Linked DNA regions of Homo sapiens: all the other regions are linked to region 5. Evidence: promoter capture Hi-C in 16 types of primary human blood cells and fetal thymus (Javierre and others, 2016). All regions are on one chromosome and are shown on one strand. Each heading gives the region's core, a stretch centred on a gene start or on the middle of the fragment in contact. The rest is flanking DNA. Distances are from core to core; before and after follow the strand shown.

Region 1 (4,647 bases), core at 2,148-4,647, 160 kb after region 5:
AATTAGGAAAAGAGGAAGTCAAATTGTCCCTGTTTGCAGACAACATCATTGTATATCTAGAAAACCCCATTGTGTCAGCCCAAAATCTCCTTAAGCTGATAAGCAACTTCAGCAAAGTCTCAGGATACAAAATCAATGTACAAAAATCACAAGCATTCTTATACACCAACAACAGACAAACAGAGAGCCAAATCATGAGTGAACTCCCATTCACAATTGCTTCAAAGAGAATAAAATACCTAGGAATCCAACTTACAAGGGATGTGAAGGACCTCTTCAAGGAGAACTACAAACCACTGCTCAAGGAAATAAAAGAGGATACAAACAAATGGAAGAACATTCCATGCTCATGGGTAGGAAGAATCAATATCGTGAAAATGGCCATACTGCCCAAGGTAATTTATAGATTCAATGCCATCCCCATCAAGCTACCAATGACTTTCTTCACAGAATTGGAAAAAACTACTTTAAAGTTCATATGGAACCAAAAAAGAGCCCGCATCACCAAGTCAATCCTAAGCCAAAAGAACAAAGCTGGAGGCATCACACTACCTGACTTCCAACTATACTGCAAGGCTACAGTAACCAAGACAGCATGGTACTGGTACCAAAACAGAGATATAGATCAATGGAACAGAACAGAGCCCTCAGAAATAACACCGCATATCTACAACTATCTGATCTTTGACAAACCTGAGAAAACCAAGCAATGGGGAAAGGATTCCCTACTTAATAAATGGTGCTGGGAAAACTGGCTAGCCATATGTAGAAAGCTGAAACTGGATCCCTTCCTTACACCTTATACAAAAATCAATTCAAGATGGATTGTATGTCTTCTTGTGAGAAATATCTATTCTAATCTTTTGCCCATTTTTTAATCAGGATTAGATTTTTTTCCTATAGAGTTGCTGAGCTCCTCATATATTCTGGTTATTAATCCTTTGCCAGATGGGTAGTTTGCAAATATTTTCTCCCATTCTGTGGGCTGTCTCTTCACTTTGTTGATTGCTTCCTCTGCTGTGTAGAAGCTTTTTAACTTGATGTGATCTCATTTGTCCATTTTTGCTTTGGTTGCCTCTGCTTGTGGAATATTACTTAAAACATTTTTGCACAGACCAATGTCCTGAAGAGTTACCCCAATGTTTTGTTTTAGTAGTTTCATAGTTTGAGGTCTTCGATTTAAGTCTTTAATCCATTTTGATTTGATTTTTATTTATGATGAGAGACAGGGGTCTAGTTTTATTCTTCTGACTATGGATATCCAGTTTTCCCAACACCATTTGTTAAAGAGACTGTCTTTTCCCCAGTGTATATCTTGCATCTTTGTCAAAAATGAGTTCACTGTAGGAGTGTTTGTTTCTGAGTTCTCTATTATGTTCCATTGGTTTATATGTCTGTTTCTATGCCAGTACCATGCTGTTTTGGTTACTATAGCTCTGTAGTATAATTTGAAGTAAGGTAACATAATTCTTCCAGTTTTGTTCTTTTTGCTTCAGGATAGCTTTGGCTAATCTGGGTCTTTTGTGATTTCATATAAATTTTAGGATTTTTTTCTATTTCTGTGAAGAATGTCATTGGTATTTTGATAAGGATTGCATTGAATCTGTAGGTCACTTTGGGTAGTATGGGCATTTTACCAATATCGATTTTTCCAATCCATAAACATGCAATATCTTTCCATTTCTGGTGTCCTGTTCAATTTCTTTTATCAGTGTTTTACAGTTTTTCATTGTAGAGATCTTTTTCTTGGGTTAATTCCTAGGTATTTTTATTTGTGGCTACTGTATAGGGGATTACATTTTTTATTTCCTTTTCAGATTGTTCACTGTTAGCATATAGATATGCTACTTTTTTTATGTTGATGCTGTATCCTGCAACTTTACTGAATTTGCTTATAAGTTCTTTTTTTTTTTTTGAAGGGTATATCTAGGTTAATTTTAATAAGTGTTGCCAGGTTGCTTTCCAAAAATGCCATAACAATTTATGTTTCAGCAACAGTGAATTAGAGAATGCTTTCCCTGAATCTTTGCCCAATAGTTCTAATTGGTAGAGTCTTTAGGTTTTCCCAAATACAAAATCATATCAACAGGGGTAATCTGACTTCTTCTTTTCCAATTTGGATGTCCTTTTATATGTTTCTCTTGTCTAACTGTTCTAGCTAGGACTTCCAGTACTATGTTGAATAACAATAGTGAAAGTGGACATTCTCGCTGTATTCTGGATCTTAGAGGAAAGGCTTTCAGTTTTTCCTAATTCAGTATGATACTATTCATAGCTGTGGATCTGTCATATACATGGCTTTCATTATGTTGAGGTATTCTCCTTCTATATCCAGGTTTTTGAGGGTTTTTATCATAAAGGGATGTTGGATTTTATCAAATGATTTTTCAGCATCAATTGAACTGTTCATATGGCATTCTGTTGATATGATGCATCACATTGATTTTTAAATTTTATTATTTTAAATTTCTTGTGGGTACATGATAGGTATATATTTATAGGGTACATGAGTTGTTTTGATACAGGCGTGCAAAGTGAAATAAGCACATCATGGAAAATAGGGTGTCCATCACCTCAAGCACTTATGTTTCAAGTTACAAACAATCCAATTATATTGTTATTTTAAAATATACCATTAAGTTATTATTGACTATAGTCACCCCACTGTGCTATCAAATAGTGGTTCTTATTCATCCATTTTTTTTTGTACCCATTAACCATTCCCAGCTCCATGGTTATCAGATGCTGGGAAGGGTATCACATTGATTTATTTGCACATTTTGCACCATCTTTGCATCCCTGGGATAAATCTCACTTAGTTATGATGAGTAATTTTTTTAAATGTATTGTTAAATTTGATTGGCTAGCATTTTGTTGAAGATTTCTGCACCAGTATTCATCAGAGATACTGGCCTGTAGTTGTTGTTGTTGTTTTTAATGTGTCTGTGTCTGTTTTTGGTATCAGAGTAATACTGGCCTCAAAGAATGTTTGTAACATTTCCTCCTCCTCTATTTTTTGGAACAGTTTGAATAGGATTTGTATTAGTTTTTAAATATTTGCTAGAATTCAGCAGTGAAGCCATTGCGTCCTGTGCTTTTCTTTTCCTCTTTTTTGAGAAAGGTTTTGCTCTGTCACCCAGTGTGCAGTGCAGTGGTATAATCATGGTACACTGTAGCCTCAACCTAAAGAAAAGTAAAGGTTTTTATTTATAGGAGACCTTTTATTATGACTTTCATCTCATTATTATTATTGGTCTATTTGTATTTTGGATTTCTTTATGGTTTGATCTTGGTAGGTTGTATGTGTCTAGATTTTTGAATTTATTGGCATATGGTTGCTAATAGTAGTCACTAATGATCCTTCAAAGTTCCGTGGTATCAGTAGCAATGAGTCTTTCTTCATCTCCGATTTTATTTATTTGGTCTTCTCTCTTTTTTTCTTAGTCTGGCTAAAGGTTTGGCCATATTGTTTATCTTTTCACAAAACCAATGTTTTATTTCACTGATCTTTTATATTATTTTCTTCATTTCAAATTCTCTTATTTCTGCGATGATCTTTATTACCTCCCTTCTTTTACTAATTTTGGGGTAGGTTTGCTCTTGCTTTTCTTGTTCTTTAAGATGCATCATTAGGCTATTTATTTGAAGTTTTTCTTCTGTTTTGAGGTAGGCATTTATACCTATAAATTTCCCTCTTAGTATTGCTTTTGCTCTATCCCATAGGTTTTGGTATGTTGTGTTTGCATTATCATTTGTTTCAATAAATTTTTATTCCTTCTCAATGTTGTTATTGGCCCACTGGTCATTCAGGAGTGTACTGTGTAATGTCTAATGTGTTCATATAGTTCCAAAATTATTCTTATTATAGTTCCATATAGTTCACATAGTTTCCAAAATTCTTCTTATTATTGATTTCTACTTTTATTCCATTGTGGTCAGAGAAGATGCTTGATATTATTTCAATTTTTTGAATGTTTTATCATTTGTTTTGTGACCTAATATATGGACTATCATTGAGAATGATCCATGTGCTGAGGAAAAGAATGTGTATTCTGCAGCCTTTGGATGAAATGTTCTGTAAATATCTATTAGGTCTATTTGTTCCATGGTGAAGATTAAGTCCTATCATTTTTTGTTGATTGTCTGTCTGGAAGATCTGTCCAGCACTGAAAGTGGGGTATTGAAGTCTCCCACTATTATCATGTTGGCATTTCTCTCTCTCTCTCTCTCTCTCTCTCTCTCTCTTTAGCTCTAATAATGTTTGCTTTATATATCTGGGTACTACAGTGCTGCGTACATATATATTTGCAATCATTATATCCTGTTGCTGAATTGACCCCTTTACCATTATATAATGCCCTTCTTTTTCTCTTGCAGTTTTTGTCTGGACATCTATTTTGTCTAATGTAAGTATAGCTACTTCTGCTCTTTTTTGGTTTTCATTGGCATGGAATCTTTTTCCATCTATTATTTTCAGTCTGTGTGCATATTTATAGGTGAAGTGTGTTTACTGTAAGCAAGAGATCACTGGGTCTCATGTATTCATCCACTCAGCCACTCTGTCTTTTGGTTGGAGAGTTTAGTTCATTTATATTCAAAGTTATTATTAAGTAGGGACTTACTCCTGCCTTTTTGTTATTTGTTTTC
Region 2 (4,604 bases), core at 1,009-3,508, 180 kb after region 5:
AAATCCTTCTCTCCCATGATCTGATTTTCAGGTTCCCTAGTGGGGATGTGGGTTTGGAGGCAGACTTTTCTCCCTCTCACACATTGAAAACTCAGTTTTTCAGCTGCCTTGCAGAGTTTGCAGCGGCAAGCTGCTTCTTTCAAAGGGTATGTGAATTCTTTTGGTTTTGCTTGTATCTTCCTGTAGTGATTCTTGTAGAGAAAGTTCACAATGTGAGTCTCCACACGGTGTTCTGTCCAACCAAGGGGGAGCTGCATGTTAGTCCCGTCTCCTAACCGCCATTTTCCTAGCATTTCCCAGCCTCAGTTTGGTCATTTATAAAATGAAAATAATAATGCCCTACTTCATGAAGCTGTTAGGAATATTAAATGACAATATATAAGCAATAAAGGCAATGTCTGGTAGGTGTTCAATAAAGGGTAGCTGCTATCATTATTATTGTTGCTTATTTTATTAGCTTTATTCTCTCTCTTCCTTAATGGGCCCACATTCTTTGCCTACCTCACTGAGACTGTAAGTGGAAGAGACCATTTTGGCCCTGAGATTTATCCCCGAAGACTCCTTCAGGCGTTTGTTCCTCGGGCTTTAGATGAATGGGTTTGGCATGGCCATGACTACTACGTACAGCACGGGGGCTGCTGAGTCTCCTCTACCAAGCTGTTCCATTGACCAGGGAGATGACACCAAGGTGAGGGCTGCAGGCACTTCTCTGGGGAAAAGAAGACTCTGAGGATAGCTGAGACCATACAGATAAAGAAAAAGATGATATAATCCAGTATGACAGGGCCAGTAGAAAGGCTAAAATTAAAAATTGATAATACCAGGTGTTGACAAGAATGTCGAGAAATTGGAACTCTCAAATATTCCAAAGGGGATGTAAACTAGTCTGACCATTTTGGAAAACTATTTATCAGTTTCTAAGAAAGTGAGACATATAACCACCTTTTGACCCAGCAGTTCTGTTCCTAGGTATATAACAAGGAGAAATGAAAACATAACAAGGAGAAATGAAAACATAACAAGGAGAAATGAAAGCACCATCTGATTGGCTGAATGGTCATCAATGAGGTTCGCACACCAGGCTGCTGACTTCACCTGGAACCGGCAGCCTGGCCCCCAGGCTTCAGGCCATCCCTGGCTTGAAGGTGGGGTTTCACCAGGACCTGCCCCTTCCCACCTAGGAACCTGTCTGCCTTTTACATGCTGTCTGTGGTACCCAGGCTGTCCACACTGAGAGGCATCTGTAGGCCCATGCCAAGCTGCCCTCACACCGCCCTCCCCAGACTCCCCTCCCACACTCTTTGGTGTCCAAAGTCTGGAGGGGGCAGAGGCAGCAGGGGGCTGGCACGTCAGCCCCCTGAGTGTGTGCACACCTGGCTGGGTTGCAACAATGCCCAGGCTCGGCCACAACTTTGCTCTGCCCTGGAGCAGGTGCCAGGAGTAGGGAGAGGCCAGAGCAGAGCAGGCACTTTCAAGCCCGTGGGGGCAGGGGGCTTCCTGGACCCCTAAGAGTGCAGGGATGCTTGGGTCCAGAGCCACGGCTGGGCAGCTGCAGCTGCGCCTAGGAGTGTGGGGCTCCTGCCTCACCAACTTGGTAGGGGGTGGGGCTCCCACCTCTTCCCAGCCCCTGCCAGCTCCACCGAGCACGCAGCCCTGGCCGCACCTCCCCTGCTGCAGCTGGCATCCCCGCAGCAGCTGCTCCAGATGGGCCACCACTATCACTTCTGCATAAACTATGGTTCCCAGGTACTTCCCACATGCCCAAATCCTTCCACTTTTCTTCTTGTTTAAATACCACTTCCCCCCGGAAGTTCTCCCTGAACACTCAAGCCACAGGTGCAGTTTCATTTCAGTACCTAGGGCACTTATTGCCAAGCACTGTAACTTGCTGTGCCCAAGTCTTCTCCCCGCAACCTGTTAACTATGAAATGTGCATCCTCAAAACTTTATACCCTCAAACATGAAAGAATCATCAGTTTACTCCTCTCAATTTACCAGGGAGAAAGCTGAGACTCACAGGGGAGAAATGCCTCACCTAGGGTCAAAAGCTAGTGGGGACTTGAATATCTCACTCATTCCACAACTTCTCTGACACTCCTCAGAGATCAACAAGGCTGGGACCCCATATGCTGAGTAAATATTATCAAGTGAATGAATAGTCAAGCTAGAGAAGTTCATTCCATGGGACGTGACTATCAGTTCCACAAGAACTAAAAGGCATATGGCCCAGGTAGAGAAAGGAAAGATGAGAGAACAAGACTGTCCTCAGGAGAAACTGGTCCAGCCTGGGAAGTTAGGTTGGCCCCTCCAGATCCAGGAGGGCTACTCTGCCGAGGCCAATGAGGACACGACAGTCAAAAGGCTTCAGAACAAGGAACAGAAGTCATTTTGCTCTGACACCAGCTGGACAAGGCTGAGATCCCCACAACTCCAACCTGAGCAAAGGAGTAACAGAGAGCGCCAACCCTGAAGTCCACAAAGAACAGCTCCACATGGGGTGTGAGGCTCGGCTGCCACGATCCCTGAACCTACTGTCCTGGAGCAAATCTGCTGGCAATTCCAGCCCTTCCTCTCCTCCCCCAGGTTCTGGGTGAGGTGGGACCTCAGAGGTTGAGGCAGGCCTGGAGCTCAGGGAAGGGCACCCGCAGCTCCACTTCACTGCTCACAGTGGAATTAGGAGGAAGAGCTCTTCCCCGAGCAGAGGAATCACATGGTGAGGTCGCAGCTTTAGGGGTGATGGTTGTAGCTCAGGGTGGGAAAAACCAGGGAGAAGAGGCCAGGGTCACTAACACACCCCGTCCCTCACATGCCATCCTGCATAGAAGGGGCAGGGGAGTGACAGCATCATCCTCTGAGCACAGCAGACCAGCACAGCCAGTCACCACACTGAGAGGCATCTACCTCAGTTCTGGCTTCCCACACACCTCGATGCCCCCTCTCCTACTCAGTTCTCTAGCACAAGAGAGGAGGGGAGGCTGCACTAGCTGAGGACTGAGGAGTCCTCAAGGGGCCAGTGGTTTCAGAGGCCACCATAACTCTCCACAGAATTTCCAGGCTAATCAATTAGTGGGTGGCCCCTCTCCTCCCAGCCTGCAGGCCACTCCTCCTGCCTTTGGCTGCTGAGGCCAATCTTCCTCTCCAGGGCACACCTGCTGTAACTCCCCCTTTGCCTGAAGCAGATTAGCCTCTGTGGGTGAGCTGTGGAGGGCAGAGCTCGTTAATGCTTGCAGACTTGCTGGGAGGAAGCAGAAGAATCATGGCAGAAAGGGAAGGGGAGTAAATCAAGCGTCTGAGGGAGAGCAATACACGAGAACGACCTGCCAACGTGTGGCACGCAGCACAGGGAAGTGGATGAACCATAGGTGGGTTCGGAGCCCAGGATCTGGACTCTGACTGATCCCCTGATTACTGAGCGACTGCAGACACAGTTCTCCGGGTGCTGCTTTCCCTGTCTATGACATGGGTGTTGGGTGGAATGATATCTAGGAATCATTGCCAGCTGCCTGATACCAGGATAGAATGGTGAGTTCTTTGTCTTTGTCTTACTCATCTCCGAATGCCTCCCCCACCAGTGCTCAAGTACCTGCCTGGCATGGAGTAGATACAACAGTTAAGATGTTTGAATACATTATTGAAGACAAATGAGTAAGAAGTTGGCAGAAGGAAGTAGAGGAGAAGAGATCCTTGGAATACAAAGGGCTCATCCAGGACTAAGACTGTGGTTAAAGAGAAAGCTACTGGGCACACCATCAAGAGAAGAATCTGGGCTGGCCAAGGAGAGACTGGATTTAAGGAATTGGATAGAAACCCCCAGGCCTGAGAGCGTGGGGGCCACTGATGGTTTCCCTGTTTACCACTGCCCACTCTCCACTCTGTTGAGGCAGGCGGACTTGAGGCAAGAGAGAGCGAGAGGAAGGAGGGAACCGGTATGTGGATGTTTGCGTGTAAGATTCACGTGTGTGCCTCAGTGTGTCTGGGAGCATCTATTGAGGTTTTATGTCTCTGGCATTTGTTTGGGGGCAGGGCATCTTTGTTGGGTGTTGCATGTGTATGTGGCATATATGATTTATGTTTTTCTCTAGTGCACGGATCTCTGTAGGTGTCTACGTCTGTGTGTAAGGGACTGAGTGTTTGTATGTGCCCATATATTCATATATTCCTGTCCCGGTGGGTGTGCGTGTCTCTGGCATGTCTGTGTGCCTGGACATATCGGGATACATCCGTGTGTGTCTGTGTGCAAGCGTGTATCCCTGTGCACTTCCGTGTCTTGGGGCATCTGAATGTGCGCTCCAAAAGTGACCATTTTAGCATGGAGTTGAAGGCAGTGAGCTGCCTCAAACATAGGGTTTTTTTTTTTTTTTTAAATTCTAGATCCTAAGCATCCCTGCCTCATTTTGCGACCTTAAATAATCAATCCTTCCTGCCCAATTCAAAGCAGACACCTGCCTGACCTGGGCCTGAGGAAAGGGCTATGTGTCCACAACAGCAGCTCAGCATCCAGGGAGCCCAGCCCTGTGCCTCGTGTTTCAACAGGAGCTGACACAAACTCAGTCATCATATCTCCCCATCGCCTGAAGTCGTCAGGAGATGGGGAAGGAAACTGA
Region 3 (4,064 bases), core at 427-2,926, 200 kb after region 5:
CAGAGCAAGACTCAGTCTCATAAATAAATAAATAAATAAATAAAAATAAAATGATTCCACAAGCCAGGCATGGTGCCTCACACCTGTAATCCCAGCACTTTGAAAGTCCAAGGTGGGAGGATCACTTGAGGCCAGGAATTCAAGACCAGCCTGAGAAACTTAGGGAGACCTCATCTCTACAAAAAAATCTTAAAATTAGCTGGGCGTAGTGGTGCATGCCTGTAGTCCTAGCTACTTGGGAGGCTGAGGCAGGAGAATCCCTTGAGTCCAGAAGGTTGAGGTTACAGTGAGCCACGATTGTGCCACTGCACTCCAGCCTGGGCAACAGAGTGAGACCCTGTGCGAAATAGAAAATAAAAATAAACAAAAAATTTAAAAATTTTTTTAATTAAACAAAAATGATTCTACAATCAAAGCAAAATTCTGAGTAACATAACAAAATCCTGTGATAATTTAAGAATGTGGGGCATGAAGACCATTTAAAACAGTTGTTCTTAAACTACATTTTTCCAAGATCACCTTGGGAAGACAAACAGGAAGTCTTAGCCAGGTCACCAAGACCCTCTTCCCTAGTTCAACTACTCAGCTATGCTTCATCTCCACTACATATTGAAAAATTATGTACGATGCCATTTCAACAAAAGGATGGTGAGGAAATAATTTAGAATAATATTCCAATATTAATATCAATATTTTACTGGATAAACTATGTAATAGCTCCAAGTGTTATCATCAGAGAGAGAAGAAAGTTTTCTTCTGATGAATGACTCTGCTCAGGGCTCCCTTCATGTCTCTGTTCCTCAGGCTGTAGATGAAGGGGTTCAGCATGGGGGTCACCACAGTGTACATCATAGCCATGACAGTGTCCTTTAGAGTAGAACTATTAGCTGATGAGCATAAGTAGAGACCAATAACGGTTCCATAGAACAGTGACACCACAGACAGGTGGGAGCCACAAGTAGAGAAGGCCTTGCAGATACCCTTAGAAGAAGGGACCTTGAGGATGGAGGAGACAATTCTTGCATAGGACCCAAGGATGAGTAGGAATGGGATGACAAGAATGAGCCCTCCCATGATAAATATCACCCATTCATTAACTCGAGTGTCAGAGAAGGCCAGCTTCAGCAGAGCAGACATATCACAGAAAAAGTGGGGGATCACATTGTCTGCACAAAAACACAACCTGGCCATGAGTAAAGTGTGTAACATGGCATGGAAGGTGGTCAGCACCCAGGACAGCGCCACCAGGGCGAGACAGAGCATGGGGCTCATGATGGCGGTGTAGTGCAGGGGGAAGCAGATGGCCACATAGCGGTCATAGGCCATGGCCACAAGGAGGAAGCTCTCCAGGTCTCCAAATAACAGGAAGAAGTACATTTGGGTCAGGCAGTCCGCATAGGGGATGGATGGGTCCTGGTTCTGCATGTTCTGTAACAACTTGGGAATGGTCACGGAAGAGAAGCAGAGGTCAGAGAAGGACAAGTTGCTGAGAAACAAATACATAGGCGTGTGGAGATGGGAGTCCAGTCGAATGAGGACAATGATGAGGAGGTTCCCCAGGAGGGTGGTAAGATACATGGCCAAGAACAGGGCATAGCACAGGTTTTGCTGCTCTGGTTGGATGGGCAGGCCCAGGAGCAGGAAGTCTGAGATGCTGGTTTGATTTTGTCCCATCATGCTCTGTCTCCAGTATCTTTAATGGAAAAACAACAGTATCCTTTAAAATCTGAATTTTAAAATGGAGATATTTCTGTGACACTTGGTCTGCTGAGTGTTCTGCGAAAATTATTTAACTGACATTATAATAATCATCTCTATACCACAAATATCTATAATTAGAATCTCTATAATCAGAAATGACTTAACTTTATCTTTTTTCTCTTCATTTATCTTTAACATGTAACAATATTCCATCCTTTCTAAAATACTCATCTATTTACTTCTGAAACATAAAGTGTGTTGGTTTCTCTCTTACCTGCCTCACCAGTAACTGCAGTTGGCTCCTCCTCTGTCAGTATCTTACATGTTGATATTCCTCAGGGATTTTTCTAAACTTCATTTTTTTTTTATAATTCTGCATAATGGCCAATAAAAACACATCTACTCCAATGGCTTTAATTGCCATTTAAAACTCAGGTGTAGGCTGGGCGCAGTAGCTCACACCTGTAATTCCAACATTTTGGGAGGCTGAGGTGGGTGGATCACCTGAGGCTAGGAGTTTGAGACCGGCCTGGCCAACATGGTGAAACCTTGTCTCTACTAAAAATACAAAAATTAGCCTGGTGTGGTGGCGGGTGCCTGTAATTCAGCTACTCAGGAGGCTGAGGCAGGAGAATTGCTTGAACCTGGGAGGCAGAGGCTGCAGTGAGCCAAGTTTGTGCCATTGTACTCCAACCTGGGTGACAGAGTAAGACTCTGTCAAAGAAAGAAAAGAAAGAAAGAAAGAAAGAAAGAAAGAAAGAAAGAAAGAAAGAAAGAAGGAAGGAAGGAAGGAAGGAAGGAAGGAAGGAAGGAAGGAAGGAAGGAAGGAAAGGAAAGGAAGAAAGAAAGAAAGAAAGAGAAAGAAAGAAAGAAAGAAAGAAAGAAAGAAAGAAAGAAAGAAAGAGAAAGAAAGAAAGAAACAAACAAACAACTCAGGTGTTCAGGTGTAGCGTTCTCTAGTATACAGAACTTAGTATCCTGAGTCTCAATGATTAACATCTCTTGGATGGATCACAGGCATCTTTGGCTTGACAGATCCTAAATGACATTCTGATCTCACCCTGCTCCTCTTCTAACTCCATCCTCCTCCACTCTCTCATGTTTGGTGAATGGAATCCAGGCTCAAGTCAGAAACCTAAGGTTTGATTTCATTAATTCATTTCTCTCACAGTCAATATCCAATCTAGCAAGTCCTACAGATTCTGCACTTCATTCTCTTTCTAATTCATCCACTCCTTATCCCAACTACCACAACCCTAAACCAGGTGGAAATCTTGTATTACCTGGACTATTGAAACTGCTTCTCAATTCATCTTCCTGCCCCTGTGTTTCAACAACCTTCTCTTCCAACAATCTTCATTTACACTGTGGCATTCTGAGATGAAAATCTGATCATCCCTCTCTTGTGATTAAATATTTCGTGGATTATCATTGTTCTTAAGATAGAGGCAAAATTCCTTTCAAGAGCACAAAGGATGTTTCATTACCTGACCAACACCTGCCTCCACAGCCTCACCTGGCCCCACAATGACTCTTGCATCCTCTTTTCAGCAATGCTGGACTTATACGTCATAATTTCTTGCCTCCAGCCTTTCATACTTGCTATTCCTCCTACCTAGCACCTATCCCCGCTATGCCCTGTCTTCATCCGGCTCATTCTCACTTATCCTTCAGGTCTATTACATGTAACTTGCTCAGCTAAACCTTCCCTGTGTCTCTGTAAACCAAGTGAGACCTGCTTCTATGCTTCCGCAGCATCTCATACTCATCCAATAGCACTCCATGCTTTGACTACCTGTTGACAGCTGACTTCCTTACCAGACTGTAAACTCTGTGCCTGAAAGGCCATGTCTGCCTTCATAACTGCAGCAAGACAGTTGCGGCACTTGGCGTGGTGCCCAGATATTGCTGATGTTTTCTAAATAGCTGTTGGCTGTCTCTCAGGCTGGAACGTGCATTCCTCCAACTTAAAAGGTAGCAAATGGCCAGTAAGTTAGAATAACTACTTCTACTAAATCCTCCTGGAATAAGAACTCATTACCTTTAGCAATTTAACACTACATTTTGACACTCTGTTGCTGATTTCACCAATGTAATTTTGTGCCCGTGGAAAATATTAGGGTATCTCAGATATACTACTCTTTTCACAAATACAAATGACCCAAACCAAACATTCTTATGCTCAAATCTACATCATGTCATTGAAATTGGTGTGAGAAAAACAAATATGATAATAATTTTATAAATGTTGGGACAAACAGAAAGAAGAAGGATAATTTCCAACCTCAAGCCCTCATTTGAGTTCATCCTCAGATATTCATATCCCATGTGATGGTTAATTTTTATTTTTTTTATTTTTAAGT
Region 4 (4,415 bases), core at 660-3,159, 250 kb after region 5:
AAAAGTACTAAATTGTTAACAGAATTTATATTTCAACTGAATTATAGCCTGCATGTTTATATTCTGTTGACATAGGCTTCGCAAAGAGTACTTTAAAAATACTCACGATTTCATAAAAGACACAAGGCAGAGTATTTTTCCCATCCCTCATAAGAAAAGTCTTCGAATAATATGGGCCAGGTGTAACAGCTGAATCAAGAACAGCTAAGCAATATTGAAATGGGGGAAAAAATGAATGTTGGTAAACTGCAAATAAAATTTAACAAAGAGAAGCTGATGTTTAAATAACTATCCATATCAACCTCTCATAGTGCTATTTATATAGCAATAAAGAAGACATTTTAAGAAGAGAAGATATTTCTCAGGCAGTTTTATAGGTAGGAAAACAAAACTTCTGACTCTCTCCAACTTAGGAACAGATTATATGCCAAGCTCATACAATTGACAATAAATGGCCATCTGAAACTTTTTCCTTAGAATGTGTAGTACAGAGTGGTTAAATCCCCAGAACAGTCTACAACATTATAATAATAAAATGCACATGTGTAACAAATAAGCATCATAATTTAATGAAAAAAGAAACATTGAATTAGAATCAGGAGACATGCATTCAGGTCCCAGGTACTTCAACTTACTAATATTTTGTGACTTTGAGCAAACTGGGTATTAAATTTATTTTTATTATATACATTTAAGGTATACAACATATTTTCATATACATACAATATATTTTCATATACCTATATATAGTGAAATCATTTCTACAGTGAGCAAGTTAACATACCCAACACCTTCCATAGTTATCCTTTGTGTGTGTAAGAGCACCTACAATCTACTCTTACCAAAATTTTAATATACAATACAATAATATTAACTATAGACCTCCTCTGTGCATTAAGTCTCTAGACTTACTCATCCTACATAATTGCAAGTTTGTACCCTTTGACCTACATCTCCCTATTCCCTCCTCCTTGAGTAAATTGTTTAACCACTTTCAAATCTGTTTCTTCACCTATAAAACGCAAATTGTAATTCATGTTTATCTCAAGAAACTATTATGAAGTGACAGCATTATTCATTTATTTAATAACCATCTACTGAGTACTGGTAGTGGGCATTTGTTATTTTGAGGCTGGCCTCCATTTCTGCTAAAAAGACCCAGATTATCCTTCAGGAAAATTCCATTTTTAGCCATATTATTTGGATAGGATTTGTCCCCATCCCCAGATCCACGAGTGAACTGTGACTGACTTAATCCAATCAGCATATTTTATTACTCAACTACGTAGTTCAGGGTTTCTGCAATAGGCATGTTACCAAGTCAGAAATGGTTATATGCAAAGACTCATTTGTTAGTTTGTAGGAAAGAGCAATCAGAAGAAAAATCTAAGAATATGACGGTGTGGTATAAGAATGTATAGTCTACAAAAATTTAATAATCAACTTGCTACCATAAGGAGAGAGTCAGAAGCTTCTGGAGAGACTATAGTGTGGAGCCTTAAGATGAAGCCAACGTTATGACTGGCCAGAAGGATGGAGAGAAATCACTGTGCCATCTCTTGAGCAGCTAGATCAAGCTTTGCCTGAAGTCAGAAACCTAGCCACTTTTCAGTTGCGTGAATAATTCTCTATGCAACACAATATTATACATAGCAATATAAATGAGTATTTAAAATCCACTAAAGTTGTTTTTTTCTGGGGGGTGCTTGCAACTGGAAGATACTTCCTATATACAGTGCAGTGTGCTAGACACTAAAGTGTAGTAAAATGAAGTATCTACCTTTGATAAGTTTAGAGTCTAGCCTAGGAACTCAGGATTATTATAGCACTATGAAAGCTAACCATCACATATAAAAGCATGGACCCCCTTCATTTCTTGATAAGAATGTCTATTGGTGTTTATAATGAGTATTGTGATATTCTTAAAAGGATTATTCTGGAGTGAACCTGAACAACTCACCAAAGAGAACCTGGGGAAATGAATGGAATCAGCATGTCCTTTTAATAGGCTCAGGTTATTTTAATATTTATATTCTGTAAATGAGGTGAGAGCCAAAGGCATCTTTCACACAGGAAAAAGCAATTTAGTGGGAAGTCCAACAGGGGTTAAGATCTTTGAAATAAGATGTTCTACCTCTGACAGTATTCTAGCTCTGACAGAAAACTGACATGAAATAGAATACCATCTGCTATTGCAGTTACGTGGCTACTGGTAAGAACTGAACAAAATAAGAGCTAAGTCAAGCTTCAACAGAGTAGTAACAGTCATGCCAACCAGCTAAGAGATATGCTTCAAGCAACATGAGTAGGACTTGATAAAGAATCCCTGAAGTATATGGGAGTTCCAGAGGCCAGAGGCATGGAAACCTCCAAAAAGCCAAAAACGAAAACTGAACAAAACCAGCCCAGCCAACACCTTGATTTTAGCACTGTGATACCCTGAGTATAGAACGCAGTCAAGCCCACATGGACTTCTGATCTACAAAACTTGAGTTAAGAAGTGGGTGTGGTTTTTAGCTGCTAAGTTTCCATTACTTTGTTACGCAGCAATTGAAAATGAATACAGCGTGCTTTACTCAAAGTCTGAGTCTCTATTGAATCCAATGTCACTTTATATAATAAAGCTTTTTCCTTAATGGTAACAAGAGAGAAACTGGAATCATTTTTAGGTGAAAGTTAAACATGTGAAATGACTGCACTGATAGAAATCTACATCTATATATACACACATTTATATTTACATATATATATATAACAGGACAAAAGGAAAAGGAGGAGGCTGTATCAGTTTCCCATTGCTGCTTACAAATTACCACAAACTTAGTGGTTGGCTTAAAACAACACAAAAGCATTATCTTAATAGTTACGGAGGTCAGAAGTCTATAATGAGTCATCAAAGCCATGTTCCTTTTGGAGGCTCTAGAGTAAAATCTATTTCCTTAATTTTTCCAACTTCTCAAAGATGCCTGCATTCTTTGGCTCATGGCCCCTTCCTCCATCTTCAAAGCCAGCAAGGTAGCATCTTTCAATGCTTTCCTTGTATAAGGGACCCTTGTGATTACATTGAACCCACCCAAATAATACAAGATAATCTTCCCATTTCAAGATCCCTAACTTAATTACATCTGCAAAGTCTCTTTTGCCATATAAGGTAGCATTCACAGGTTTTGGTAATTAGAATGTAGGCATTTTAGGGTGCATTATTCTGGTAATTAGAATGTAGACATTTTTAGGGAGCATTATTCTATCTACCACAGGGACTATTATTAAAACCAGTTCTTTGAATACACTTTAGGGAGTAGCAAAAAGCAGACTGTTTTATTTGGAAGAAAAAGGACTAATCAGACATTAAAACCTGTCCTCCAGAGAGTATTACTGAAGTATTTTTAAAGTATTTTACCTACCTAATACTTCAAAAAGAAGTACAGTTTTCTGTGCATGTTCACGCCAATACTTCATGCTTTCAATAACTGCAGAAATAATTCTTAAAGAACTAGCTTTTTCCTTAAACTGTAACTGATACAATGAGGTTTCCTTTTGAAAAAATAAGAAACATAGTATTAGAAAAATATTTGTTTTTTTCATCATACTCGTTTACCTTCTACGTAAAAATTCTAAGTCCTTACAATGGACAAGTGTGTAAAAAGAACTACTGAAAATTTTAGTATAGTTACTTCCCTAAAATAAGGCCATCAATACTATATTACAGATGGAGAAACCAGGGTGCACTTAGAGACAATCAAGAGGAGAATTATTTATATAGGTATTCATTCACTCATTCATTCATTGACTATTTTAAAGCATCATATGCCAGATCCTGTGACAAATATAGGTAAGGCCATTCCTTTCCCTAGTGCACTCACACTCTAGGGGACTCTAGGGAAGGAGCCAGACACATTCATTCATTCATTCGTTTCAAAAGTGTTTACTGAGCACCTACTACATGCCAAACATAGCTATTTAGGAAAAATTCATGGACAAAACAGTCAAGATATCTGTCCTCGAAGATTTTATTGTCTAGTGGAGGATTTAAAAAATAAGTAAACATATAACAGAATGTCAGGAAATGTACTTTTTTTTTAGGAAAAAAACACACAAGGTAAATGGAAAGAGAGAGAGATGGGGGTTATTATTTTAAGTGGGTTGTTGAATGAGGACAGTGGGAACAGCAAGTATAAAAGCCCTGAGATGGAAATGTTCTTAGCATTTTTGAAGATCAACTAAGAATACAGTGTGTTAAAATACTAATTTTCAAAGGCAAGGGGACGCTTTCCTTTGTGAGGGTGAGGGTTGTGAAGAACATATGATGGGACCTTTTTTCAAAATACAGGTAGTTTCTTCCCTCTTCCCCCGCTTAACGAAGATTCTAACATGCCTCCTGTTGATGATGGCCACAGTAAACCACTGTTACTAAG
Region 5 (4,614 bases), core at 1,257-3,756:
ATTGTTTAAACAAATAAGAATTTCTTTTTCTCTAATGGTCATAGTGGGCCCTCTTGGTCATGAGTGGCTCTGCTGGATATGGAGAGCTAGGGACATAGGCTCATTTCACCATGCAACTCCATCATCACATTCAGCCTCTTCACCATTTGCATTCAGTTGGGACAAGGAGAAAAAGGGTATGGAGGAGCTCAATGAGTAGAACTCAGTTGGTAAAATGAAGTTACCTTACCACACCTCATTGCAAGGGAGGCTGGGAAATGTAGTCTAATAGAGTGTCCACGAGGAAGACAGCAACGCAGATTTAGGTGAGCAGCTGGTAGTCTCTACGACAATTAGTATGATCTCAAAATGCAAGATGGATCAAAGAAGAGGGAACTGTAGTGAAGCAGTTAAGGGACTACTACAATACTTAAGTTGAAAATGATGATGGTCTAAGCTAAATTAGTAAAGGGTAATTTAGCTTAGGTAAGTAAAGAGAAAAGTTGAGTTATATAACAATTTTTTCAAATGAAGATTCAACAAGGTCAGACGTACAGGCAGAAGATAAACTGGATGAGTGTTTCTGTGAGAATCCCACATGTGGGGAACCATGAAATAAACCTGGGTTCAACTCAATAATTGAGTGCAAATTAATTGGTGCACAAAATGAATGATATTTTACAAAAATCAATTTGGAAGACATAAACATAAACAAGTTATGATTTTCCTCTTCAAAAACATCTTGCACCTGTAATCCCAGCACTTTGGGAGGCCGAGGTGGGCAGGTCACAAGGTCAGGAGATCGAGACCATCCTGGCTAACACGTGAAACCCCGTCTCTACTAAAAACACAAAAAATTAGCCAGGCATGGTGGCGCGTGCCTGTAGTCCCAGCTACTCGGGAGGCTGAGGCAGGAGAATGGCGTGAACCCAGGAGGTGGAGCTTGCAGTGAGCTGAGATCTCGCCACTGCACTCCAGCCTGGGCAACAGAGTGAGACTCTGTCTCAAAAAAAAAAAAAAAAAAAGAAAAGAAACATCTTGCAAACTACTTAGGTTTTAAGTGCAGAGTGTGGGGTTTGGTCAGACATGTTAGCAGGATGACTGAATATGGAAATATGGGAAAAAGAAATCGAGACCACAGATACAGACATGACAGTTTACTAAAGAATAGTTGAATCCACTGTGGACTTGGATTACTACAAAAAGAAATAAGGAAGACAAGGAAGAGAAGACTGCTATGGATTGAGTTTGCCCTCACCAAAACTCATGTTGAAATGTGATCCCCAGTGTGGGAGGTGTTGGGAGGTAAAGCCTAGTGGGAAGCGTTTGAGTCAAGGGGGTGGATCCCTCATGAGTGGTCTGGTGCTGTTCTCATGGTAGTAAGTGTGTTCTCATTCTCTCAAGACTGGATTAATCTTAAGGGAATGTTCCTACAGGAGTGGGTTGTGATAAAACCAGTATACTTCTCGGGTTTTCTCTCTTCCCCTGTATCCACTTCCCTGTTGACCTTCTCTGACAGGTTATGATGCAGCAAGAAAGCCCTTGCCAGAAGCCAGGGCCACGCTCTTGAATGTCCCAGCCTACAGATCCATGAGACAATTCAACCTCTTTTCTTATAAATTCCCCAGTCTCAAGTATTCTGTTATAGCAACACAAAATGAACCAAGACAAAGGCCAGTGGAAAAAGCACTGTGATTATGTATAGTTATGGGCTTTGAAAAGAGAGAAAAGCTGTCAAAAAGATAGGGAATATCTTTGAAAATCGAACACCTGTGGAGTAAGTTCACTGAGCTTGTTTTTCTAGGACCTAATGCCAGTTGTCTTTCTGTTTTAGAATCTGATGGCAGTGTAGACACCTCTGACTTCCTGGGCTCTGGGCTCACCCCGAGACTGGTTGGAGGAACAACTTTAAATTGTTCACTGCATTCCTACTATGATACATCCTTTGCACTGGAGGATTTTTTGTTTGTTTTTTTCACAAGGACTCCAAGAGGCTATCCTTTTCTTACCATGTGTAATAAAATTATTGTGTGAGTCTGGCTTTCCTATTCAATTATAAGGTCCTTGAGAACAGATGCTATGTCTTGTGTAACAAATAAGTGGATGAATAACTGTATTTTCACATATTTATTGTTTCTCTACAAAGTAAAAAAAAATCTAAGACATGAAACATGAAATTAGGTTTTTGTTATGTGATTAAATTATAGATATTAAGGTGGTGGTGCTACATTTGGAAGGACAACCATCTTTACTTCACAGATCGCTAACTTCTTTGACATGAGTGTCCAGGAGGTCAATGAGAGTTCGTCCCATTGACCAACAGAGATTTTACCCAAAAGTGCTGGCTATATTTATGATTGTAAAAACCAGGTATAGCCATGGCTAATGAAAAGTGGTGGATAAGTTTGACAGCAGGTGAATTTGTAAAATAATTAAAAACGTTTAAGTGGTAGATAAGGCAGACTATAACACACACTAACTGCGCTAATAATTCTGGGTTCCTCTCCCCTTTCATGCTGAAGAAGCCATGAAGAAAGAAAATCAATCCTTTAACCTGGATTTTATTCTCCTGGGAGTTACTAGTCAGCAAGAACAGAATAATGTCTTCTTTGTGATTTTTTTGTGCATTTACCCCATCACACTGACTGGAAATCTGCTCATCATCTTGGCCATCTGTGCTGACATTCGCCTTCACAACCCCATGTATTTTCTCCTTGCCAACCTCTCCTTGGTTGACATCATCTTCTCATCCGTAACCATCCCTAAGGTGCTGGCCAACCATCTCTTGGGGAGCAAGTTCATCTCCTTTGGGGGATGCCTAATGCAGATGTATTTCATGATAGCCTTGGCCAAGGCAGACAGCTATACCTTGGCTGCAATGGCATACGATCGAGCTGTGGCCATCAGCTGCCCACTTCATTACACAACAATTATGAGTCCACGGTCTTGTATCCTGCTTATTGCTGGGTCTTGGGTGATTGGAAACACCAGTGCTCTCCCCCACACTCTGCTCACAGCTAGTTTGTCCTTCTGTGGCAACCAGGAAGTAGCCAATTTCTACTGTGACATTATGCCTTTGCTGAAGTTGTCCTGTTCTGACGTCCACTTTAATGTGAAGATGATGTACCTAGGGGTCGGCGTTTTCTCTTTGCCATTACTATGCATCATTGTCTCCTATGTTCAGGTCTTTTCCACAGTCTTCCAAGTTCCATCTACCAAGAGTCTATTCAAAGCCTTCTGCACCTGTGGCTCCCACCTCACAGTTGTTTTTTTATATTATGGTACAACGATGGGCATGTATTTCCGCCCTCTGACCAGTTACAGCCCCAAAGATGCAGTGATAACTGTGATGTATGTGGCAGTGACCCCAGCATTAAATCCTTTCATCTATAGTCTGAGAAATTGGGATATGAAGGCAGCCCTACAGAAACTCTTCAGCAAGAGAATCTCCTCATAGCCGCTGTGAGATTACACGCTGGATACTGTAATGACCAAGTGGGATACACTTGGAAATCCAGCTCCAATGTCATTGCCCTTCAAGAAGCTCCTTTTGTTCTTTTGAGCCAGAAATTCCTCTACCAGAAATCTTGTAACGGATGTGATATTTTATTGAAATTATCACTTTGGACAAATTCCTGCTCTTTTTTGAGAGAGTGGCAGGCTGGGAATATCAGGTTCATGTCCCAGTTAGCAGAAATTTACTAGCAGAGTAAAGTTGAAAAAGTCTGAGTCTCAGCTTGCATATCTACATGTTAGGAAAATAATATCTGCCGGACTCTCTGACACAGCTTGTGTATATCAAAATGGCTCATGCTTTGAAGGCTGCAAATTACTATTCTAATGTAATCTTTACTGGACTTTTATGTCTAGCCACCCCTACTATACTTGTACTCTGGTGGCAAAAGCTGTGTTAACATATCACTTACTTTTTTAGTATTTTGATCATATAAAATATTGGTGGAAAGCAGGAAAATGTATAAAAATATTAGTTTCTGAAATACAATCTGATAATGAATAAACATAATCAAACTGCATAGTATTCATTCATGTATTATAGAGCTGGTATGTCTGTTAAGGTCAGTTAAGATCCATGCAGGAAACAGAAATCACACTTGGTATATTTATACCAAGAAGATTTGATACAGAGAATTGGCTACATAGGTGTATCCTGAAAGAGACTAAATAGTGAAAAGGCAGATGCTGATGCCACCCACAGATTACCAACGGCATGAAGAAGATACCTCAGGCAGAACTAGGAAAATAAAAGTGTAAATGTGGTGTTACCGAAACCTAGACCCTCCAAGGAGGGATGACCACACATTTGATGCCCAGGTCTCTGAACACAGGTACCAAAGAGCTGGCACTTGGCCCTTATCTGGTCAGCTAAGCCAAATTTTCACTTCTGGGGATCTGAGGCCTCAGCAGTAGTAGCGACTGTTTAAATGCTTCTGGTTGGTGCAGTTTATATTCACCTTTGCTACTGGGTATGGAAAGAATAAGAAGCACCCCAGACATAATTGTAATCATGAGCTTCTGCCTCTCATTGTGTAGCAGCAACACAATGTCTTTGGTAACTGGGTCAGTCACTCCAGCCAGTAGAGAAATCCCTTTCTCTGAATGACCCACAGAGCCATG
Region 6 (4,643 bases), core at 62-2,561, 220 kb after region 5:
GCCTGGGAGAGCTGCTGTCTACTCCCAGAACCCACCCAAGGCTCTTCTGTGGATAGCAACTACCGCAGCGTGCAAGGCAAGGGACTTTGAAATTTACAAGTCGTAGCCACTGAGAGGGTGGGAATAATTCGATCATTCATAAAAAGTATATTAATAATCATTAAAAAAATAATATAGGTAATATGTTAACATTTAAAATCTCCAATGAAAAACACTAAAACCCATTATATTACTACCACTCTTTGAAAACCACTGCAATAGCTCAGAGTTTCCTTCTGTTTATTATATGTGTATGTGGTAACAGTGAGATCATATTTTAAGTATACAGTTTTGTCTTTCCTTTTACTTACTGAATATCTTACCACAAGAATTTGCTTGATTTTAAAGTCATTTCTGTTAATGTGAATTTTTTACAATTATTTTTTCTAGTTTATTATGGTATATATAAGAAAACAACATATTATCGTATATTATTTTTATATTTACTTTTTATCTTGAAATTTTCCTATACTTTCATATTTTTAAGAGTTTTCCAGCTGGGCTCGGTGGCTCACACGTGTAATCCCAGCACTTTGGGAGGCCGAGGCGGGCGGATCACATGAGGTCAGGAGTTCGAGACCAGCCTGGTCAACATGGTGAAACCCTATCTCTACTAAAAATACAAAAATTAGCCAGACGTGGTGGCGGGTGCCTGTAGTCCCAGCTACTCGGGAGGATGAGGCAGGAGAATTGCTTGAACCTGGGAGGTGGAGGTTGCAGTGAGCCAAGATCATGCCACTGCACTCCAGCCTGGGTGACAAAAGCGAAACTCCAACTCAAAAAAAAAAAAAAGAAAAGAAAAACCAACAACTGTTTTATTGCTTTCTAATATATGGTCTTTTAATTTCTTGCATTGGCTAAAGCTTTCAGAACAATGTTAAATAATAATTGATAATGAATTTACTTGTCTCATTAGTGACTTGACTGAGAATGCTTTTAATGTTTTTCTATTAAACATGATGCTGTCTTTGGAGTTTAGTTCGTTTTATTTTATTTTTTATTTACTTATTTTTAAATTATTATTATTATTATTATTATTATTATTATTATTATTATTATTTGAGACCCAGGCTGGAGTGAAGGGGCACGATCTTGGCTCACTACAACCTCCACCTCCTAGGTTTAAGCAATTCTCATGTTTCAGCCGCATACCAAGTAGCTGGGATTACAGGCGAGCACCATCACGCCTGGCTAATTTTTGTATTTTTGATAGAGATGGGGTTTCACCATGCTGGCCAGGCTGTTGTCAAACTCTTGAGCTCAAGTGATCCACCTGCCTCAGCCTCCCAACGTGCTGGGATTACAGATGTGAGCCACTGCACCTGGCCTACTTAGTTTTATTTTAACATGTTAGGTAAGTACCTAACTATTCCTATTTTATTATAAGATTTCAGAAATCAAAATGAACATTTAATATAATCAAATGCCTTTTTAGCATCTATGGAAAGGATCACATAATCTCCCTTTACATCTGTTAATATCATAAAACATATTAATACATTTTCTCATTTTGAACTAACCTGGCATTCCTGACCAAATCCCAAATACTTATGGTTAATTATTTTGGTAAAATTACTGAAATAAATTTGTTAATCTTTTATGATTTCATATTTTCTTTACTTTAACATAAATTTTTTTCTTTTCTTTTGAGCTAGTTATGCACACTTCGCAAAAAAAAAATGGAAGCTTTCTTCTTTTATATTCTTGAATAGTTTGATCGTCATTACAAACTTCCCTGTGGCATTTTACGGAGATGTTGCTTTTCATTAGTGGCAATTGGAAGCTAGCTCTTTCTCTACTTTTTCTATAGTAGTCTGTTTAGATTTTCTAACTGTTCTAGAATTATTTTAATAAATCATAACTTCATAGAAAACTTTTATAACTTGGAGTTCAGAAAAATAGAATTTTATAATTTTTATTGAAATATAATAGTTGTATATATTTAGGGAGTACACTGTGATGTGTGTATATATATATAAAACAATGTGTAAGGATCAAATCAGGGTAATTTGGATATCCATCACCTCAAACATTTGTCTTTGTGTTGGGGACATTCCAATTCTTCTGGCTATTTTGAAATATACAATAAATTATTGTTAACTATAGTCTCCATACTCTATCAAATTCTAGAACTTGTTCCTTTTATTTAACTGTATTTTTGTACCCATTAACCAATTTATCTTTATCACTCCTTCCCCTCACCCTTCCCAGCCTCCAATCACCACCATTCTATTCTCTACTAGAATTTTTCAATTTTCTATTGGGCTATGTTTATTTTCTCCCTGTCAATTATTATTTTGCATGCTTATACTTTTTTGCTTTTACTCACGATTAGATCACTTAGTTAAGGTTTGTCAATTTCATTTTACCACAAACAACCTGTTCTCAATTTGTATTCATTCTTTTGTTTGTCTATTTTCTAATTTTTTACTATGGAATTCCTTTAGATTTTCTTAAATTTCTTTTGTTTTCTTATTCTAAATTCATGATTGGGTTAAGCCTTTTCATTTCAACATTTTTGCTGATTAACATGAACATATCTTTTGACTTACAATTGTAAGACAACTAAGGAAGTCAGCATACCTACACCATCTCTACATGTTCTTTCTTCTCCTCTTAACTTTATTAGATTTCTACAGTGTCATTGTTCAAACATTTATATTTTATTCTGAAACCACAATCCCCATATACGTCTTACAGTAAAAAAAATTCAGTGCTTATTACCAGTTATTTTGTTTTCTTTTTCCTTCCTCTTCTCTTTGTTGGCTGAAGTTTATCCTCTAGAAGTTTATTCTATGGGGCTCATAGAACAACTATTCTTGAGTTTTTGAGTGTCCAAAAACTTTAGGCTGTTGCTTGTATATTTGAGTTACAGTTTGTCTTAATAGAAAATTCTTTGGTTACATTTTCCTTCTATGAAGATTTTATAGGAAGTTTTCTATTTTCTTCTAGTCTTGAATACTTCTGTAGAGAAATTTAAGATAAGCATCTTCTCATTCTATTGTAAGTGACTTGATTTCTGCCAATATACCCAAAGGATTCATTATTTTTTAATTACAATGACCTTACTAGGACTATCTCAGAATGGGACCTGTTTCTGTCTCCTGGTACATGTTGTGACTTTTCAGTCTCTAGAAGCCGGTCTTCAGTTATTTCTGGAAAGTTTTATTTTGTCTAATTGTTTGTTCCTCCATGCTCATTTTTTACCTGAGTTCTGTTATCTCACATTTCACTTCCATCTGGTATCTTGAAACTCTTCCCTGAGGTCTTGTATCTCTGTCTTGTGTTCTTGTCACATAGAGGTGAATGGTTTATTACATGTTTTAAGTTCACACTTGTTTTTTGTTTTTCAGTTATTCAGTAGCTCTATGCCACAATTTTTCTTCTGAGTGTTTGTAGTCTAGCATTTGTTTGTCCTAGTTTCTCTCCTCTACCCTCCCCATTTTTTTCTTGAGTATCTTTAACTAGACCTTGTGCTGGTTCCCTTTTGAAGTCTAAATGAATCGAAAGGTTTCTCAGCCAGTTTTTCATGAGAGGTTTTTGCTGGGGACAGGTGCATGTCTTGATTCACGGTTGTTTTTGAGTACCTTTTGCCTTGACTTCTCTAATGTCAATGCTGACACACAGCTGAGGAACTGCTGACAAGGCAGTTTTCTTGCTTTTACAGTCTCACCTAAACACTACACAATCAGCTTGCCTGGGTGGCTTCTCATTCAGTCCTGTCTCCTCTGCTTCTCAGATCCAAACTGAGACCAAAGAAGACCATGCCACCAACCATTTCCACTTTTATAAACAAAGGATTTTAAAGAATATTTTGGTGACCATCCCCCAAAGCAGTCACATCAACCATACTACTACAGCACTCTGATTTCTGAGATATGATTTTCTTAACCGCTCCTGGCCCTGAATTTCACTGCCCCAGTTCAGGCAATCATCATGCTTCCCTTTCTGTTAGAGTTATCAGACTCCAACCCCTTCCCATCTTCTGATTTCAGATACAAGGGTATGATATTGCTCTTAAGGAAGCTCAAGCCCTACTTGTCTCTAGTCAATAAAGACATTGATATTTTTTTGATTCAGAGTTTGACATAATTCAGTATGGCTTTCCAAGTACATGCCTTCTTCATTTGAAGACATAGCCTTAGAGTCATTGGTCAATCTACCATGCCTGAATGAAGGACAAGTAGAAGACCAGTGTCTGTGCAATGTAGAACCCTAACTGCACCTGGCAGCAACCAACCCACAGGACATGATTACAACTTTGGTTTTAGAGGGGAGTAGCTGACAATGTACACAGAAAAAATAATTTTAAATTAACTTGTTAGTCAAAGTCCAGTGTAAGGATTTAAGTAACAATAATAACACTAGCAATTAATTGAACAAGGAGTGTTGAATTGACACTTCATAGTGTGGTCCCTCTCTTTGAAGAAATGTGCTGGGCTGGTCTTTCTGACATTCAGAATCATGAGTATCTTCTCTCTGATTCCTGGCATACCTTCACTTGATCTTCACTATTTCCAGAAGCCTTGAAACCTAGGCAACAGTTTCAATATTTTCTAGTTTCTCTGAAACTCTCATGAATTTTTCTATTTTGAAGTCTGCTT

Evidence for each region. Contacts are between HindIII fragments. The CHiCAGO score rates a contact against its expected background, and 5 or more counts as called.
Region 1: a contact is called between a fragment that was not itself captured here and the fragment with the promoter of OR1A2 in region 5, in 1 of 17 cell types (M1 macrophages). The highest score is 5.6, in M1 macrophages.
Region 2: a fragment that was not itself captured here is called in contact with the fragment with the promoter of OR1A2 in region 5 in 3 of 17 cell types (M1 macrophages, M0 macrophages and M2 macrophages); the score reaches 6.0 in M1 macrophages.
Region 3: a contact is called between the fragment with the promoter of OR1E1 here and the fragment with the promoter of OR1A2 in region 5, in 6 of 17 cell types (M2 macrophages, M0 macrophages, M1 macrophages and 3 more). The highest score is 13.0, in M2 macrophages.
Region 4: a contact is called between a fragment that was not itself captured here and the fragment with the promoter of OR1A2 in region 5, in 6 of 17 cell types (M1 macrophages, M2 macrophages, M0 macrophages and 3 more). The highest score is 11.3, in M1 macrophages.
Region 6: a contact is called between a fragment that was not itself captured here and the fragment with the promoter of OR1A2 in region 5, in 3 of 17 cell types (M1 macrophages, endothelial precursors and M2 macrophages). The highest score is 9.2, in M1 macrophages.

What each region holds. Positions count from the first base shown.
Region 1 is chr17:3,351,217-3,355,863 of GRCh38, forward strand. The region is part of intron 1 of OR3A2 (olfactory receptor family 3 subfamily A member 2); the gene reads right to left. Among named protein-coding and RNA genes, the nearest start is that of OR1R1, 32 kb to the right of the region's middle. The HindIII fragment of the contact is 4,742 bases long and covers 1,027-4,647 here.
Region 2 is chr17:3,376,973-3,381,576 of GRCh38, forward strand. All of the region lies in intron 1 of OR3A2 (olfactory receptor family 3 subfamily A member 2), which reads right to left. It also overlaps the pseudogene OR1AC1P. Among named protein-coding and RNA genes, the nearest start is that of OR1R1, 6.7 kb to the right of the region's middle. The HindIII fragment of the contact is 4,906 bases long and covers 1-4,604 here.
Region 3 is chr17:3,396,734-3,400,797 of GRCh38, forward strand. OR1E1 (olfactory receptor family 1 subfamily E member 1) reads right to left here and starts at 1,677. Exons shown (of 1, transcript NM_003553.3): 1 at 371-1,677. The coding sequence starts at 1,677. The coding sequence ends at 733. The HindIII fragment of the contact is 11,538 bases long and covers 1-4,064 here.
Region 4 is chr17:3,443,068-3,447,482 of GRCh38, forward strand. SPATA22 (spermatogenesis associated 22) reads right to left here. Exons shown (of 9, transcript NM_001170698.2): 7 at 3,405-3,534; 8 at 107-204. Among named protein-coding and RNA genes, the nearest start is that of OR1E2, 11 kb to the left of the region's middle. The HindIII fragment of the contact is 668 bases long and covers 1,576-2,243 here.
Region 5 is chr17:3,195,013-3,199,626 of GRCh38, forward strand. It overlaps OR1A2 (olfactory receptor family 1 subfamily A member 2), which reads left to right and starts at 2,507. Exons shown (of 1, transcript NM_012352.3): 1 at 2,507-3,436. The coding sequence starts at 2,507. The coding sequence ends at 3,436. The HindIII fragment of the contact is 7,515 bases long and covers 1-4,614 here.
Region 6 is chr17:3,414,745-3,419,387 of GRCh38, forward strand. All of the region lies in intron 2 of OR3A3 (olfactory receptor family 3 subfamily A member 3), which reads left to right. Among named protein-coding and RNA genes, the nearest start is that of OR3A3, 5.7 kb to the left of the region's middle. The HindIII fragment of the contact is 823 bases long and covers 901-1,723 here.